Regions from separate parts of the Homo sapiens genome. Here region 1 is linked to region 2. The links are contacts of gene promoters, found by promoter capture Hi-C in human tissues and cell types (Jung and others, 2019). All regions are on one chromosome and are shown on one strand. The core of a region is centred on a gene start or on the middle of the fragment in contact, and the rest is flanking DNA. Distances in the headings are between cores, read along the strand shown.

Evidence for each region. Contacts are between HindIII fragments. The study calls those that stand out against the background at their distance.
Region 1: a contact is called between the fragment with the promoter of PARP6 here and the fragment with the promoter of NEO1 in region 2, in 1 of the 25 tissues and cell types used here (hippocampus).

The regions. Positions count from the first base shown.
Region 1 is chr15:72,271,155-72,274,210 of GRCh38, forward strand. It overlaps PARP6 (poly(ADP-ribose) polymerase family member 6), which reads right to left and starts at 1,400. Exons shown (of 24, transcript NM_001323532.2): 1 at 1,239-1,400; 2 at 1-133. RefSeq lists a silencer at 1,143-1,562 and enhancers at 1,703-1,752, 1,813-1,902. The HindIII fragment of the contact is 3,446 bases long and covers 1-2,591 here.
Region 2 is chr15:73,051,090-73,054,024 of GRCh38, forward strand. It overlaps NEO1 (neogenin 1), which reads left to right and starts at 1,374. Exons shown (of 29, transcript NM_002499.4): 1 at 1,374-1,716. The coding sequence starts at 1,587. RefSeq lists silencers at 494-543, 604-673, 764-1,083, 1,314-1,693. The HindIII fragment of the contact is 9,189 bases long and covers 1-2,935 here.

The sequences.
Region 1 (3,056 bases), core at 150-2,649, 780 kb before region 2:
GTTGCCCTGGGGTGAGGGGTAGGATGACGGCAGCGTTAGGCCAGAAGTGCCAACTTTTCACGGTCTTTGTTGCTGCAGAAGTCAAGAAAAATTTAGCCTCTTTCCAAGGGCTGTTGCTGCTTGGTTTCTGTTGCTATCACAAGGAGAAAAAGGTATTTCAGAGGGAGTTTTTCTTGTTCAAGCAAGAGACAGTTCAGAGATTACCGGCTTTTTCAAACCAGGCTGCTTTAGTGAAAGGGACTTGCTTCCTCTACTCTCAATGCCCTTTCCTCTGGAGAGATGGAAAGTGGATTTAAAAGGTGAAGAGTTGGAAAAGGAAGGTGGTGGGTTATGGAATTCACAGGATCACAAACACTTTTTAAAAAATTAGCCGGAAACGTGGCCTAATTCAAAGCTTTCATGTTACACACAGAATACTTAGACCTACAGAGGTCGACCAATTTGCTTAAGGTTAGGAGTACAGAAGGACTGGGATGTAAAGACATTGGACAGGTCCTAATTACATCTAATCTTCATGTGATGTGGTTATAATTAATTGAGTTGTTAATGAAGTAAGCAAGAAAGACCTATCTGATTTATCTAAATGAGGTAAAGAATGGGCCCTTTCAAAAGAAGTTGGGCCAAAAATAGACTATATGATGAGTGTCCAGAGAAGGTGTTAAAACTCAGCGGCTAATATAGAACGCTTTATGAGTTTCCACGAGAATAAGTCAAATGTAAATGAGCCTCAAGTCTGGATCACAAAGGTCTTTCCCTAGGTCCATGGGCGCTTCTCTAGGTGTGACAACTTCACGTCTAGTCAAAGCAGCTTCAGAGCTCAATGTTTAAATTGTGGGTTGGGCTCCCGGCTTTGTGGTCCTGGAGGAGGTTACTCCACTCCATCCCGTGTGCTCCCTTCTCAGGAGTAGGCCACTAAACAAAGACTACTAGGAAGAATCACTGAGGGGCGACTCCCGCAGGTTAGCGCTATCTCGGGCACCCCGCAGGGAGAGAGGACACGGCTGCCCCGCGAAAACACTCTCTGGCACCCGTGCTTCCAGGACAGGCCCTGAGGCCTCTCCCGGGGAAGCAGTTACACCTGTTCTCCGGGGCTCCCCTGAAGACCCCAAAAACACCCAACACCTGCCTCCCCAGGAAAGACGCTCTGGGCCCGATCTATGCCGCCCGGCCGCCGGGCCTGAGTGAAGCCTGTCCAGCCTAGGAGGGGCCCTCAGAACCTCCCGGTCCAAGCCTCTCACTTCGTCCACCCCTGCGGAGACGGGGCGAGCCCCGCACCCTTCCCGTGGCCCGGCCGCACCGCCCTGTGCCCGTGGTGGCGGCCACACAGGCCAGCCTGGCGAGTACTCACGGCGACCCCGGGCCGCGCGCGGCCGCAGCCGACGGGACGAGCGGCCCGGGACGCCCCGCGGGGGCGGAGCGGCAGGCCAAGGGGCGGGGGCCGGGCCTGGCGGGCGAGGTCGCGCACCCCACGCCTCGTCGTTCCGTCACGGGCGCGCTCAGCCACTCTGCGCACGCTCGCGCGGTGACACGATGGCACGTGGCCCGCTCCTGACCAACAGCCTGACGGCCTGCTCCTGGGCGCGCCTCAGCAGCCGACGCCAGCCTTGAGACGCCTGCGCGGCGGTCGCTAGTCGGGAAAGGGTGCGGAGTGGGGGGTGGCGCCTGCGCCGTGGGTAGGGGAGGCAGTGGAGAAGGAAGAGGGACTCTGGGGGAGTGCGGGGAGCCTTCCAAAGGAGAATACTTGCATTTAGCGCCCCGAGTGGTTGGGAGGAACAAGCAGGAAGGGCAACCCAGGTTGCCTGTAGGCCGGGAGGGAGTCCCCTCGCCGGAGGTTGGGGCCGGCAGGTAGAGACTGAGGGAAGTCCTGAGGCCTTGCTGACTGCAGGATTCTCTGGTTCGACAATGGAAGTCGAACACCTCGGGCTTTTAAAAATTCTGGCATTTAACTCATTTGTTCCCCGGTAGCTGCAGCGTGATGGAGAGCACCCTGGCCTTCTAGTCAATCTGGGTCTGAAGCTTGGGTTCGGCACTTATTGATGGTGCAGCCTTAAGCGATGACTTTCACTTTGTGAATCTGATTTCTCCTCTTTGAGGTGGAGACAGTAATATGTGTTTCACGGAGCCGTTGTGGTGAGGATGAACTGAGATAGTGTTAGGTTGAACCGTAGGAAATTGCTATTTTTGCAGTTTATAAACAGTCAGATACCTTCAATTTCATACGATTCCAACTAATCCATGTAAAGTAACCAGCAGAGTACTTGGGACTAGGAAGTAGTTCATACATGGAAGCTGTAATTGTGGTTATTGTGGTTATTAACCCTAGACATGGCCAGATCTCCTTCATCCTTATTAGTCTTGGGGCTTCCACGTGACCCTCTTTTCCATCAACACTAATGGGAAAAGGCTTATCTTAGACCTACTCTGTTTCCTCACTCCCTCTTTGTAGCTGGACACAGTACACACAAAGAAGGCTTTGGCCCTGAATGATATAAACACGTCATGTCTATCCCTCCTAAGCTGGCCTCAGAAGTTTCCCAGTTAACTTTTTGTTGTTGGTTGATTTACATTTGCACATTCTCAGCCTCTCCTTTCTAACTCCTTCCCCTTTTGATGTCCCCCTCTGCTCACCTTGCCACTCAGCCTGGGCCACAACACCGTCTCGGTGTGAGTTTGTTACATCTACTGCTTATAGTAACTGAAAAAAGTGAGGGATCAATATAACCTCGGTTTCAGAGTGCGGAAGTTCAGAGTGGTAGGGGAAGGAGTCAGGCCTGCTCTCTAAAACAACTCACCATCAAGGGCCCCGTAATAGCTTTTGAGAACCAAGTATGTATGGGAGTGTTTGAACATAAGCACTGTGCCCATGAGTGACAAGTCCAACTCCAGTATTCAATAACCTTTAGGATTCCCCCTTTCCAGCATACCACCACTAGCTCTTCTATTCATCATGAATCTCAGCCACCTCATAGTTTACCAGTATCTTCCAGGCTTCACCTCTTTTCCTACCCAGTCCACATCCTTGGTCAGTCATTTTAATCACATCTTTGTTAATATGC
Region 2 (2,935 bases), core at 124-2,623:
TGGCGCTTTAGAATAAAATATCTTTGGAAAGTAACTATGAGAAAGCACAGAGGGATATGTTAGTGAAATAGCCATTTTCTTGTGGGAAGCAAGACATTTCGGTTATCGACTACACAGAAGAGTGAATAAAACCCAACGCCTATCAACCACCAAACGTGACTCTGCTTGCATAATCATACAAATAAATTTTCTTTAAAAATTTTTCATGGGTGCAGTATATAAAATGATCAATAGTCTCATCAGCAGTGGAACTACAAACTGCTTTCTCCTAACTTTGTGTAGCCTGGGTGCTGCCTCACGATTACTAAGTGGTTTAAAATCATATCCCACTTGCTCCTTGGTTTATCAGCGAAAGACGTGATTCCCAGGTAGGAAAACGCCAAGTGTCCCGCAAAGGTACAGGTAAAACGTAGCAGTTACTGCGAGAAGACTGGCCCCGGGGAGTCCCAGGGCTCGGTCGGGGCCCCCGCACGAGCTGAGGAAGTGGACAGCGGGCACCTTTGTCTGTGCCTAGTTCCCTGGACCCGGGCCGAGCGATGCGGGTGGGGGCGCGGTTCGGGCGGGTCCCGGCGCTGCCCGGGGGAAGCGCGCGGCGACGGCGGCCCGGCTTGGGAGCCGGAGGTCAGCGGCTGCGCGGCCGGCCCCCTCCCACGGGAGCCGCGCCAGGGCCCAGCAAGAGTCGGGCGGGATCGCTATTGTTTTTGGCGAGCACATAAATCCCCGGGCCGACCCACTGCGCACCCAGGTTTCCTCCCGGAGGCCTTTCGGTTTCCTCTGAGGCCCTATATAGAGGCTCCAGGCCCGGACTGTGCAGAGGTGCGCGCCCACGCCGGCCTCCCGGACCAGCCTGAGCTCGGAGCGCCTCTCGCCCTCAGGTCTCTGCAGCCAGAGGCATCTGGGGAGGTGAGGGGGGAATTTGTCCCCGAGGCGAGGAGGAGGAGGCGGGGGCGCGCGGAGCCGAGGGGCTGCGGCGAGCGGGCGGGAGGAGCAGGAGGATCCGCTTCTCCGGGGTTTCCCTGACGCCAGCAGCAGCGCCCGGCGCGCGCGCCCCGCACCCGTCAGCGGCTCCGGGGAGAAGGGGGAGGGGAGCGGGCCCGCCACGGCCCGAGAGGCGGCAGCCGGGATTGGAGCGGGGGCGGGCCGCGCGCGGAGCCGAGGGGGTGCGGGCGAGGCGCGCGCGTGCGCGTGTGCGCGCCCGGGACTCCCGCCCCCCGCCCCCGCCCCCGCCCCCGCCGTCCGCGGTCTCCGCCCCCCTCGCGCTGGTGTGTGGAGCCGGAGTCGGCGGCGGGTGGCGGCGCCTGGAACCTGGAGACCGACCCACCGCCCCCCCCCCCCCGCCCCGGAATGTACTGACTCCCCTTCTTCGCTCTCCTCCCCTCCCCGCCCCCTTGCAGGAGGGAGGCGCCCTGGAGTCTCCCCTCCAGCGAGAGGGGCTGCGCGGGCCGGGCCGGGCCGGGCTGGGCTGGAGCAGCGGCGGCCGCGGGAGCCGAGCTTGCAGCGAGGGACCGGCTGAGGCGCGCGGGAGGGAAGGAGGCAAGGGCTCCGCGGCGCTGTCGCCGCCGCTGCCGCTCACTCTCGGGGAAGAGATGGCGGCGGAGCGGGGAGCCCGGCGACTCCTCAGCACCCCCTCCTTCTGGCTCTACTGCCTGCTGCTGCTCGGGCGCCGGGCGCCGGGCGCCGCGGCCGCCAGGAGCGGCTCCGCGCCGCAGTCCCCAGGTAAGCGGCGGGCGCGGGCCCGGGGGTTCGCGGGGGCGCGGCACCGGCTCAGGCGGCCGCGGCTGCGGTGTTTTTGTTTAGGATCCAGGAGGAAACGTGCAGGAACTTCTCTGCCTCGGCTCCGGTTGCCGAAGAGAAAGGGGATCGCGCGTGGTGGGGAGGAGAAGGGCGAGAGGGGGCGCCACCGGGGAAGGGGCGGCTGCCGGGGGGCAGGTCGGGGGCGCAGGGGTCTAGTTCCCAGCTTTGTACCTGGAGGCAGGTTCACCCCTCGCCTCTCTCCCCTCCCCCAGGCTCATCCCACTTGTAAGAGTGGGACATTCTTGTGCTCACACTAGCACCAGTAGAGGCCACTACACACCTCATTAAATAAACAATCAGACGGCCAATTCATTAATTTTCAGGAAAGGAAAGGGGAGGGGGCTTGAGCTCCTGGTTCCCTGGCCAGGGATTTCCCAGCTTCCGAAGTCTCGAGGAAGAGCTGGCTAGTCTCGAGGGACTCCTCGCGCGGGGATTGGAGCCCGAGTCTGCGGAAGAGCGGGGGTGTCAGAGGGGCACAATTGCCCGCTCACAACCCCTGGTGTTGATTTAACGATGAGGACGCCTTGGAGAGCGGCTCGGAGTGATCGTATCTGTTAGTGTTTCCGTTATGAAATGCCTCTTCTTTCCTGGGGATTACAACTATATTTACAGCCTATTAACCACTCTTAACCAAGGGAATTGTCTAAGCATCAGATTTTAGGTACTTGTACAATGTTTTCAGATGGCATTGTATAAACATTGAACCTCAAAAGCCATTTTCAGTTCTTTTTTGGAATATTATAGATTACTGAAACCACCTGCATTCCTATTAAGGGGACCAACGAACAAAAATGCCAAGCCTTCCGGGAAGGACCTTACGGTATTGTTGAGCAGGATACACTCAGCAGTTGAAAGGCAAATTAGCATGTAATCTGTTAAAATTATTTGACCAAGGTGGTGTACCATAAAACTTGACAAAACTTTCACTCGTGTGAGATATGATATTTTTACATTTGAAAGCAGTCTTACCGCTGAACCAGTACTTGTTTTTCCCTGATTTATATGAAATAATATTTAAAATCACACTGCAAGGTAACTTGACTGATAAACTTTTCATTTCCTTGCAGAGTGTGTATGTAGCTCATGGCTTTTGCCAATGTTAAAGAACAGCTTTAAACGTAAAGTACCACTCGGTATTCTC